Linked DNA regions of Homo sapiens: all the other regions are linked to region 3. The links are contacts of gene promoters, found by promoter capture Hi-C in blood cells and fetal thymus (Javierre and others, 2016). All regions are on one chromosome and are shown on one strand. The core of a region is centred on a gene start or on the middle of the fragment in contact, and the rest is flanking DNA. Distances in the headings are between cores, read along the strand shown. Region 1 has its middle 140 kb from the start of HS3ST2. Region 2 has its middle 19 kb from the start of LINC02890. Region 3 holds the start of METTL9 (methyltransferase 9, His-X-His N1(pi)-histidine). Region 4 has its middle 35 kb from the start of LINC02890.

Region 1 (2,750 bases), core at 146-2,645, 1.4 Mb after region 3:
AGGGAAACTGAGGCTCAGGGGAGGGACAATGAAGTCAATTGCTTAGTCATACTACTGGCTCCAAAGCCTGCCTCTAACCACTCTGCTCCACTGCCCTAATGGGCATCCTATGAGAGTAGCCGCCTGTCATTCCTTGATGTATCCCTAGTATACTTGAGGCATTCAGTAAATATTTAGTGACTGAATCAATGTTCAAATACTTTAATGACTTTTTGCCAGCTTGTCTAGAGGCCTTTCCTGCAAAGTTTTATAATTTAGTCATAAATATATTTGGTTGTAATGTTATATGTTTCATTATGTCTCGTGATCCCAAAATTACTTTATGAATTAAATATCTTGAAAAATAGAGTGGAATTCAATACAATTCTGAACCCATCTACCACATGTCTTCATCCTTGCTGTCAAAATGCCAGTGCCTTCTTAAACAGGAGAGAACATTGACTACATACAAACTTGGTTTAGCTCATGAAGTTTACTCAGACATGCATAGTACAAAACAAAAAAAAATCAAGGAGACAAAAATAATCAAAAGGGATGAATTTAGTAAATCCTGTACAAAATGCTGCAGGTCTGAAAATATTTATTGGAAGAAATATACACATTCAAGAGAGGTTATTCAGCAGACAGAAGAGAAAAAAGGCACCACAAAGATAAAGTGGTACAAATTTGGAAAAATGTTTCACAGAAGTAAAAAATTGTTTGAAATTCCTTTAGGCAAAGTGAAGAAAATATCCTTTCATTTATAAGACCAGGAAACCAAGTGACTGGCTGCAGATAAATGAGCTAGTGTCAATCAGAATGGGTTAAGTCCTGCTGCAGGAACAATCTCAAATCTTAGTGGCTTGACACAGCGAAGGTTATTTCTTGTTCATTTCACATTTCCAGCACAGGTTGATAACTGCTCCATGTTATCTTAATTCTGGGACTCTGGTTGATAGCACATCCTCTACTTAAAATATTACTAAGAGAGGCCGAGCGTGGTGCCTTACGCCTGTAATCCCAGCACTTTGGGAGGCTGAGGCGGGAGGATCACAAGGTCAGGAGTTCAAGACCAGCTTGGCCAACATAGTGAAACCGCATCTCTACTAAAAATACAAAAAAATTAGCCAGGCATGGTGGTGCGTGCCTGTAGTCCCAGCTACTAGGGAGGCTGAGGCAGGAGAATCACTTGAACCTGGGAAGCAGAGGCTGCAGTGAGCTGAGATCAAGCCACTGCACTCCAGCCTGGGTGACAAAGCGAGACTCCATCTCAAAAAAAATAAAAAAAAAAAAGAATACGACGAAGAGGTTCTTAACTGTGTACTAGCTTTTAATGGTTCTGCTTAGAAGTGACACAAGTCATTTCTGCTTACATTTAATTGACCAAAGCAAATTTCGTGGCTAAGAAGGAATGATTGGGCTCCTGGCAATCTCTGCAATATTGTTCTCCACCTTGCTGCCACAATCCTGAATGTGGACACATCTGCCTTCTCCTACCCTCCCCTACTGGCCTTTGTGGTGCTACCCTGTCTTGCTATGTCCATCTTTGCATCAAGACTTCTGGGTCTTGGAGGCTGGCCTCTCTTCCTCCTCCTTTACCCCAAAGTGCTTCTCAGCTTTCTGCTCTCCTTGCCCAGAGGTGACATGTAAGCCACATCCAGCAAAAAAGATGTGTTTTGTTTGGCCCATACAGGGTTGCTCATATTGTTTGTAATTTGTTCCCAATATTTAAAAACCAAACTGAATGCTCTTCTTCAATTAATTGGAGGATCTGGCCACACTGGACCACATTCCTTTGTGGACACAGGTAGCTCAGCTGAGTAAAGCTGGCCCTGTAGAGGAAGCAGGTGCTTGCATCTCTCCCTGGGCCCACCTGGTCCGCTGATGCTACTTATGTTACTGAATAAGCCACCCGGGAGCTCCAGATTTCCCCCCTGGGAAGGGGGAATCGCCTTAATTTAGTTGGTATCTACATGCAAATGACAATTTAAATCACAGTGCAGTCATGATCTCTTACCTGCATTTCAAGCCTGGATTTCTAACATCTATTAATCCTTCCTGCTCCCAAGACCATTTCGATGTGGCTCATGATTCTGCCATGTTCAAAACTATGGGCCTCAGGTGAGTTACTTAATCTCTATAACTCCTTAACTCATATGTAAAAATAAGAAAACGAAGTTACTATAAGACATAGGAACTTTACGACCCCCTGGTAGGATGCACTGAGATGAACACAACCTCATGTTGGTGGAATCCTTGTCTAAAATGCACAAGCACAATTTAATCATGAGAAAACATCAGACAAACCCAGATTGAGAGACAGTCTACAAAATAACTGACCAGTGCTCATCAAAAGTGTCAAGGTCATGAAAGACAAGAAATGGCACAGCCTGGAGGAAACCAAGGAGGCACAACAATTAAATGCAGTGTGGGCTGGGCGTGGTGGCTGACGCCTGTAATCACAGTACTTTGGGAGGCCAAGGCAGGTGGATCACTTGAGGTCAGGAGTTCGAGACCAGCCTAGCCAATGCAGTGAAACCCTGTCTCTACTAAAAATACAAAAAATTAGCCTGGCATGGTGGTGCACGCCTGTAATCCCAGCTACTCGGGAGGCTGACACAGGAGAATCACTTGAACCCAGGAGGCAGAGGTTGCAGTGAGCCGAGATCGCACCACTGCACTCTAGCCTGGGCGACAGAGTGAGGCTCCATCTCAAAAATTAAAAAAATAAAAAAAATAAAACAAATGTAATGTGGGATCCTGGACTGGAT
Region 2 (2,700 bases), core at 190-2,689, 1.0 Mb after region 3:
GTGAAACCCCATTTCTACTAAAAATACAAAAAATTAGCAGGGTGTCGTGGTGCACCTGTAGTCCCAGCTACTCAGGAGGCTGAGGCAGAAGAATCACTTGAACCAAGGAGGCTGAGGTTGCAGTGAGCCGAGATCACACCACTGCACTCCAGCCTGGGCAACAGAGTGAGACTCTGTCTCAAAAAAAAAAATCTACTCTTAGCAATTTTCAAGTATACAATACATTATTATTATTATTATTATTAATTATTATTATTATTACTTTGGACAGAGTCTTGCTCTGTTGCCCAGGCTGGAGTGCAGTGGTACCATCTCAGCTCACTGCAACCTCCCCCTCCCCAGTTCAAGTGATTCTCATGTCTCAGCCTCCCAAGTAGCTGGGATTACAGGCGCACGCCACTATACCAGGCTAAGTTTTGTATTTTTTGTAGAGATGAGGTTTCACCATGTTGGCCAGGCTGCTCTCGAACTCCTGAACTCAAGCTATCTGCCCACCTCGGCCTCCTAAAGGGCTAGGATTACAGCCGTGAGTCACTACACCTTGCTTACAATACGTTATTATTAACTATAGTCACCATGCTATGCAATGGATCTCCTGAACTTATTCCTAACTGAAGCTTTGTACCCTTTGACCTACATCTGCCCATCGCTTTCCCCTCCCCTTGCCCCTGACAATCACCATTCTCGATTTTTCTTACGCAATAGTAAATCTTGGAGATTTGTCCATGTTAGTAGACATACATCTACCTCGTGGTTTTAACTCCTGCATAATATTCAAAGTATGAACGTGCCACAGTTTATTCTGTAACTCCACTAATGGACATTTTGGTTATTTCTACTGTGTTTTCCTCTATAATAAGCAGTACTACAACAAATATCCTTCTATATACCTCCTTATGCACATGTGTGAGTGATTCTCTATGGTTGATACCAAGACTGAAATTTCTGGGCCATGAGGCAGGCCCATGTTAAAATTAAGTTCTCCTTTTTGAATAGGTCACACATTTAGTTAATTCAAAAATAAAAAATGATATGCAAGATATATGTCACAAAGTCTTTCCCCCATCTTTTTCCTAATCTATTTTCCCTTCTCTCACCCCTGTAGATATTAATTTGTTGTGTATACCTCCACAGTTCCTTTATGAAAACAAAGCAAAGAAGAACATGTATTCCTATTTTCTCTTCTTTCTTACACAAAAGATACCATACTATATATATATATATATATATATATATATATATATTCTTCTTTATTTCACTTTTTTTCACTTGATAATATATCTTGGAGCTCTTCCCATAACCATAAATCTTCTATAACTATAGAGAGTGTATACTCATGCTATTTTTTTTTTTTTTTTTTGGAGACAGAGTCTTGCTCTGTGGCCCAGGCTGGAGTGCAGTGGCACAATCTCAGCTCACTGCAACCTCTGCCTCCTGGGTTCAAGTGATTCTATTGCCTCAGCCTCCTGAGTGGCTGGGATTACAGGCACGTGCCACCACGCCTGGCTAATTTTTGTACTTTTAGTAGAGATGGGGTTTCACCATGTTGGCCAGGCTGGTCTTGAACTCCTGACCTCAAGTGATCCACCTGCCTTGGCCTCCCAAAGTGCTGGGATTACAGGTGTGAGCCACAGCACCCGGCTAACTCATGCCTTTTTACATAGTATTTAATTTACATAGTATTTCTTTACATAGATGTGCTATAATTTTTTTAACTAGTCTCTTATAGATCACTTTTCCCTGATCTTTTGCTACTACAAACAAGACATAAGCATTTTATTATTTTTTAAAATTTTTGTAGATTTAGGCTTTGAGATGTTTTATTCATTCATTTAGTTATCCAAGTATGTATGTCTGTACTAAATATTTGCTAAGGTCTTGTGTGGTGGCATTATCTTAGGCACTGCTGATAACAGGATTCACAGAACAGGCACAGCCTTTCTTCTCACAATGCTTAAGATCTTGTTAGGACAACAGACCTTGGAAAGAAAACACAATCGTAATGTATTTCCATAATGAATATGAACCTCTGTTAACCCATCCAAGATTTTTTTTTTCCCTCGTGATCGCACATTTTGTGGAGGAAATGTATAATTATGCTTGTGAGACAGAGAAAAACTAACTGGGCCATGAGGACCTGAATCCATTGCCTCCGTAATTATTACAGAGACAGGCACATTTTAAATTTCAATAGACATAGCCATGCTGCCTTTCAAAGGGGTTGTGCAGTTTACATGTCCACCTGGGTGGATTTTATTTTTAAAAGCTTTTTATTTATACTTATTTAATTTAAAAAATTATTTATTTATTTAGAGACAGGATCTCACTTTGTCACTCATGCTGGAGTGCAGTGACGTGAGATCGTAGCTCATTGTAGCCTTGAATTCCTGGGCTTAAGGGATTCTCTTGCCTCAGCCTCCCTGTAGCTGGGCCTACAGGCACACCTCACCATGCTTAGCTAATTTTTTATGTTTTGTAGAGATGGGGATGTCTTGCTATGTTGCCCAGGCTGGTCCTAAACTCCTGGCCTCAAGCGATCCTCTCACCTCGGCCTCCCAAAGTGTTGGGATTACAGGCATGAGCCACAACAGCTGGCCTTGGGTGGATTTTTAAAGGAGCCAAAATAGAACAGACACTGGCACCTTCTGCTTTAGCCAGATAAAACTCCTGTGGTTCCCAGAACAGGACGCACGTCGTCAA
Region 3 (2,782 bases), core at 32-2,531:
CCGAGATCGAGCCACTGCACTCCAGCCTGGAGACAGAGCGAGACTCCACTCCGTTTCAAAAAAAAAAAAAAAAAAAAGCTGTTGGGTAAGGAATGATTTTGTTCCCCATCTGTGGCTCACCACCCCACTGTTTCATAAATGAAAATCTCTGATGTGCAACGCTGAATTAACCAAAAGGCTTACTTCTTTTGTTTTGAACTTAGACACATTTACATTATTTCTGGTGCAGTTAAATTAAAAGCACTTTCCAAACAAACCTAGGAAAGTATTAAAGTTAGGGACTCCCACGAAATGTTACTCCTTAATTGTGGCTTGGATAATAGCAGGAAGAACTGCAGACAGGAACACAGTGTAACTAACCCTTCAGTTCTGAAATGTTGCTAGGTCTCCTCGTGTTATAAATGATCAAATAAATATCCGGGTTAAACACTGCTCCCAGAGCTGAGTTCACTCTTAAGAGTGTTGGGTCCAACTTCCCTGTGCTAATTCAAGGAAACAAGGCAGCCAAGGAGTCTAACTTGAGGTCTTCATTCTTGGGCAGGGCCATCAATACATCTAAAACATTACTTGTGGGTACCCCAGCTGCGGTAGCTTCCCCAAAAGGCAGAATTTTCACTCATTCTTTATAGAAACACGTAGCCAGCAACTTCTCAGGCTTGGGGAACGGGGCAGGCGGGTCGTGGTGGTGGGGAGAGTAGAGGAGGGAGTCTGGCAGGTCGGTTCTAAATGTAAACTGGAAACTACGCATCCGAGCGGGCAACCATCACTGGCACCATTCGTCTCCGGGAAGAACCTGTGTGTGTCAGGATGCACGAAAGGAATGACTCCCCTCTTTGCGCCCCCGGGGTTAACTGCACGACCCTGTCAAAGTCCCGCCGTGGAGTGGGATGAGGGTCGAGAGGTAACCCTGTCAAAGTCCCGCCGTGGAGTGGGATGAGGCGAGGAAAGACTGGAGGTCCTTCCAGCACCACCTTGGAGGGGCAGGGAGGCTGCAGTTACCGCCTTCGGAAGTGATCTCCTCAGCCCTCAAAAAAATTAAAACCACCTCCGCCATTTACTAGAGGCCAAGGCAGGGCCGGGACACGAGAACGCGCTCCGGGCGGATGCGCGCTCCCTTTGTCCCGCCTCCCAGCGGCCCGCTCATTGGACGGAGGGAGGGCGCCGGGGGAGAAAGCGACGCGGCCGCTCGTAAGTGCTCCGGATGGAAACTGGTGCAGGGGGCAGCGGCGTTCCGCGGCCGGAAGGGAAGGGGGAGGTGCCGAGGCTGCGCGCCGGCTGCTCCTCCCCACCCCCAGCCTTTGCCCTGAAGGGGGCTGGATGGGCAAGGCGGCCGCGATGGCTCGAGCTCGGGCGGTGGCGGCGGTGGCCGGAGGCGGCGGTGCCTCCTCCTCCTCGCCCCGGCGCCGGCGGTGATCCGAGCGAGCGGCCGCGGCCCCCGATGAGACTGCTGGCGGGCTGGCTGTGCCTGAGCCTGGCGTCCGTGTGGCTGGCGCGGAGGATGTGGACGCTGCGGAGCCCGCTCACCCGCTCCCTGTACGTGAACATGACTAGCGGCCCGGGTGGGCCGGCGGCGGCCGCGGGCGGCAGGAAGGAGAACCACCAGGTACGGGCTGGGGCCGGGGCCGGGGCGGGGGCGTGGCGGCCCGGCCTTCCCGCGCTGGGCCCGGCTATTGTGCGGGACGGCTCCGCGAGGGGGCGGCCCGGCCCTCGCCCCTCCGCCTCGGCCCCTTGGAAAGTTTTCCCCGCGCCTTCCCCGCCGGGCGTCGACTCCGCGAGCCCCGGGCACCCGGCCGCGGCCCCGCGAGCGCCTTTTGTTCCGCAGCGCAGGCGGGGCATGGCCTCCCGGGCCCGATCGTGAGCGGCCCGGAGCCCCGCATTGTTCCTGGGTCCCGGGCGGTGACTGCGGACGCCCGGCAGCGGGACTGGGGAACTTTGGGGCCAGAGCGTGGCTGGGGGCGCCCGCCTGGCACCGAGGCCTGAGACTGAAGAGACCCGGCCAGATCCATTACCCCGAGAAACAAAACGAAAAGCCAGCCCCTCTTGTTGTCTCGTTGAATCCCAGAACGTACAAAGGGTCGTGAAGAAATGTAACTGTACATCGCAAGCCATTGAACTCTCCAGGCTGATTGGGGTGACATTTCTCCCTAAGCACTTAAAAAATGGGTTTGACAGGTTGTCGCTCCCATCCTACGGAACCTTCCCCTCCTACCTAGCAGAGATCTCCTTTAAACTTGGATTTAGTCAGCCTGCTAGAAAGATTGTGTGTGATGAGGAGGAAGATTATGCAAGTTTTACAGGAAGGGTTTTTAAAACAGAACGGGACGGGAGGGAGTTTTAGTTATGCATCGTGAGCGTTACGCTGTGACCGGGTAGGTAGGCTTTTCATTAGCTCAGTCTTGCGCCACTTAAACGTGTACAGGTTAACTGTAGAATTAAGTGAGATATTTCGTATATGACCTTAACATAGTTTGCAGTTAATGTTAAATTCATTGAAAAGAGGCTTTTGAACTCTGCCAGAGTGTTGGCTTGTCATAGCTAGCATTTATAATACATTTTGCTTTTCCATAGAGTATTAATTATTCCCTATATCATCTTGTGTCTCATCATTTTCATATATTTCTCATTTTCCTACATTACTTTTTTATTATGCCAGGTGTTCAGAGAATTTACACCCAGGTTGATTTCATGTGTTTTAATGAGGGTAGAGAATTGTCTAAGAAGGAGATAGAGCAATTTAGAAAAGTAGCATTTAGTCTTTAGTAATATGTATATTGGGCTTTTT
Region 4 (2,782 bases), core at 60-2,559, 1.0 Mb after region 3:
ACAGCAACTTCTGTGACTCAGTGTGGCTTCAAGGTCAAGGAACTGAGCGTCCTCCTGACCAACAGGCTGAGGAGATTGTTGGGAGTTCTTGTGGGCCAGGCTCTTATCGGTGAGCTGTATGGAGAACACCATCTCTCAGATTTATCCATAATTTTAATGAATGCTCTGTTTGAGATAATGACCCATATCTTGACTTGCACAAAGCCCTGAAAATACTTCTACGAATTGTGTTTTATCTGAAGTACTGCAGCATGCAGCATCCAACATTACCATTGATATCATCTATTGAGAACTCTTTCCCAGGTTCTTTATTAAGGTTTAATTAAATTTTATGTCTTATCAATTAGGATTAATCTATATTTAGTCTGAATTAGAGGGAGCCAATTATAAATAACACCACTTCTCATTTATTCCTGAATACAAAATGAAGGTTTTTAAACTTTCTTTGGAGGAAAAAATAAAAAACCTCACAACCCCCCTGACTCAAATGTGTCCCTTTAAAGAGTTTTATGCCCAGGAGACCACAAATTCTATTATAATAAAGTGAAAAGATGATAATTCCTATAGGAAGGTGTTACAGACAGAAATGGGGGTCCGGAGGGAAAAGAGAGAGAATTTCTGTTATGATGTGGGCAATTGAAACAAAGAGATTTTCAACTTTAAAGTTTTCACTTGGAGCAATGGCACAAAGATAAACTGAATTTTCCAAGGTTATTGTGACATCTCTGTTTCTAGAAGAGGACAGACCAGCTTGTGCCCTGCGGTTGTGTTCAATGCTGTTAATTAAATATTTCCAATTCTGTTACTTCTGGGCACGAATTGGATCATACTCCTCCCCTCTCTTCACCTTGAAGTCAAATGTGGGCATGGGACTCGTTTGGTCAATGAAATGCAAGAAGAAGCAATATCTGTCAGTTCCATTTGGAAGCGCCCATATGGACTAGAGTGCAATTTCTCATGTTTTCTTCCTCCTGCTGCAGTGGTCATGGAAACACAATTCAGACAAAAGCCCCATTAGCCCAAGATGGGTGGCGTCTTCTCTGCCAGCCTGCATTGTTTGTGCAACATGAGCAAGAAGTAAACTTTTGTTGTGTTAAGCCATTGAGATGTTGAGGTTTTTGTTACTTCAGCGTCATGTAGCTTATCCTGCCTTATAGAAGCTCTATAAGCTTTAGTTTCTTCTAAGCTTTGGTACTGACTTCATTGGGTTGTTATATGAGGAAGAATAATGAAGTAATTAACAAAAAGTGTTTCATTTAGTGCTGGCACACAAGTACTCGGTAAATATTAGTGCTTCCTATTATTGTTGTTGTAGTTGGGGATGTCTATGTATTATGGCTAAATGATCCTATTTGGAATATTCTGATGGTATGTTCAAAGTTTATTTAAACTCTTAGTATTTCAATGTCTTGCCTTTCCACCTGATCAGAACAGAAGCTTCACATCGAGCACTTCTATTACCCCCTGCTAAAGAGTTTACAAAGCCTTCTAATGCACAGTTCTATTTACTTTCTTCTTTCCCTTACAACGCTATTGAATAGTCCTGTGGTATATAGTTTAAGAAAAGGCAAAAAGCCTTATGATAAAAGTCTGTTTAGGAAGGTACTGTGTTTTCAAATGAGCCTTTGGAGATCCGGCCTGCATAGGCTTTCTGGCAGACCTGTGAATTCAAGGACCCCCTTTCCAAAATTATCCAGAGTAACTTGTAATTTATAACTTGGGTTTCTGTACATGTTCCGGCCTGGACCTCATTTAAGTGCGTCCAGCCAATATACAGTGGTGTAAGCCATGAGGTTTGTAGAGACTCAAATTCTTGTTGTGACCAATATAACAGGTACACACTGTGAACTCGTCCCATGAGCTTGGTGCATTATTGAGCCAAGAATCCTCTAGAGGTTGCCTCATAGTAGGAAATCAGAGAGCTATCCAGGAACAATGGTGAGACCAGTTCAAATATTACCTGGACCCAGCATTTAGAAAGTCCAGTTCTTATGGATGCAAAGGTCTTGTTCTAGAATCAGGGTGTGGTCCCAATATACGCAAACTCACCACAGTTGGGAGGATTTTGGTTGCAAGTGACAGAAACCCAGCACAAACCCCAAAGGAAAATCATTGGCTCTTGTAACCCAGAAATTTAATGGATAAACCCTTCCAGCTTCAAGTATGGCTGTATGTAGGTGTCCAAATGATGTCATTAGCTCTTTCTCTTCCCCCACTCTAACTCGTTTTCTCTGTATCTACTTTCTTTTTTATCAAACTCTATCTACATGGCAGCAAATATGGCATTGGCACCTGTAGGTTCCCATTGCTTTTATTGCAGTGATCCCAGAAACAAGACTGCCTCTTTTTTTTTTTTTTTTTTTTTTTTTGATAGTTTCAGGAAAAATAGTTGGGAGGGTGCCAGGGCTAGTTTTTCTGTTTCTTTTCTTTTTTAAACTTTTATTTTAAGTTCAGGGGTACAAGTGCAGGTTTGCTACATAGGTAAACTTGTGTCATGGGGGTTTGCTGTAGGTTATTTAATCATCCAGGAATTAAGCCTAGTACCTATTAGTTATGTTTCTGGATCCTCTCCTGCTCCCACCCTCCACTCTCTGAAAGGCCCCAGTGTGTGTTTTTCCCCTCTATGTGTCCATGTGTTCTTATCATTTAGCTCCCACTTATGAGAACGTGTGGTATTTAGTTTTCTGTTCATGTGTTAGTTTGCTAAGGATAATGGCCCCCAGCTCCATCTGTGTGCCTGCAAGGGACATAATCTTGTTTTTTATGGCTGCAGAGTATTCCA

What was found. Contacts are between HindIII fragments. The CHiCAGO score rates a contact against its expected background, and 5 or more counts as called.
Region 1: a fragment that was not itself captured here is called in contact with the fragment with the promoter of METTL9 in region 3 in 2 of 17 cell types (naive B cells and monocytes); the score reaches 6.3 in naive B cells.
Region 2: a fragment that was not itself captured here is called in contact with the fragment with the promoter of METTL9 in region 3 in 1 of 17 cell types (M2 macrophages); the score reaches 5.1 in M2 macrophages.
Region 4: a fragment that was not itself captured here is called in contact with the fragment with the promoter of METTL9 in region 3 in 1 of 17 cell types (M2 macrophages); the score reaches 6.8 in M2 macrophages.

What each region holds. Positions count from the first base shown.
Region 1 is chr16:22,951,901-22,954,650 of GRCh38, forward strand. No RefSeq gene overlaps it. Among named protein-coding and RNA genes, the nearest start is that of HS3ST2, 140 kb to the left of the region's middle. RefSeq lists an enhancer at 1,651-2,161. The HindIII fragment of the contact is 4,976 bases long and covers 1-2,750 here.
Region 2 is chr16:22,630,799-22,633,498 of GRCh38, forward strand. No RefSeq gene overlaps it. Among named protein-coding and RNA genes, the nearest start is that of LINC02890, 19 kb to the left of the region's middle. The HindIII fragment of the contact is 1,649 bases long and covers 616-2,264 here.
Region 3 is chr16:21,598,296-21,601,077 of GRCh38, forward strand. It overlaps METTL9 (methyltransferase 9, His-X-His N1(pi)-histidine), which reads left to right and starts at 1,282. Exons shown (of 5, transcript NM_016025.5): 1 at 1,282-1,603. The coding sequence starts at 1,439. It overlaps LOC101927814 (a long non-coding RNA gene), which reads right to left and starts at 1,090. Exons shown (of 3, transcript NR_110930.1): 1 at 361-1,090. RefSeq lists a silencer at 1,269-1,888 and an enhancer at 1,997-2,561. The HindIII fragment of the contact is 7,148 bases long and covers 1-2,782 here.
Region 4 is chr16:22,647,271-22,650,052 of GRCh38, forward strand. No RefSeq gene overlaps it. Among named protein-coding and RNA genes, the nearest start is that of LINC02890, 35 kb to the left of the region's middle. The HindIII fragment of the contact is 251 bases long and covers 1,185-1,435 here.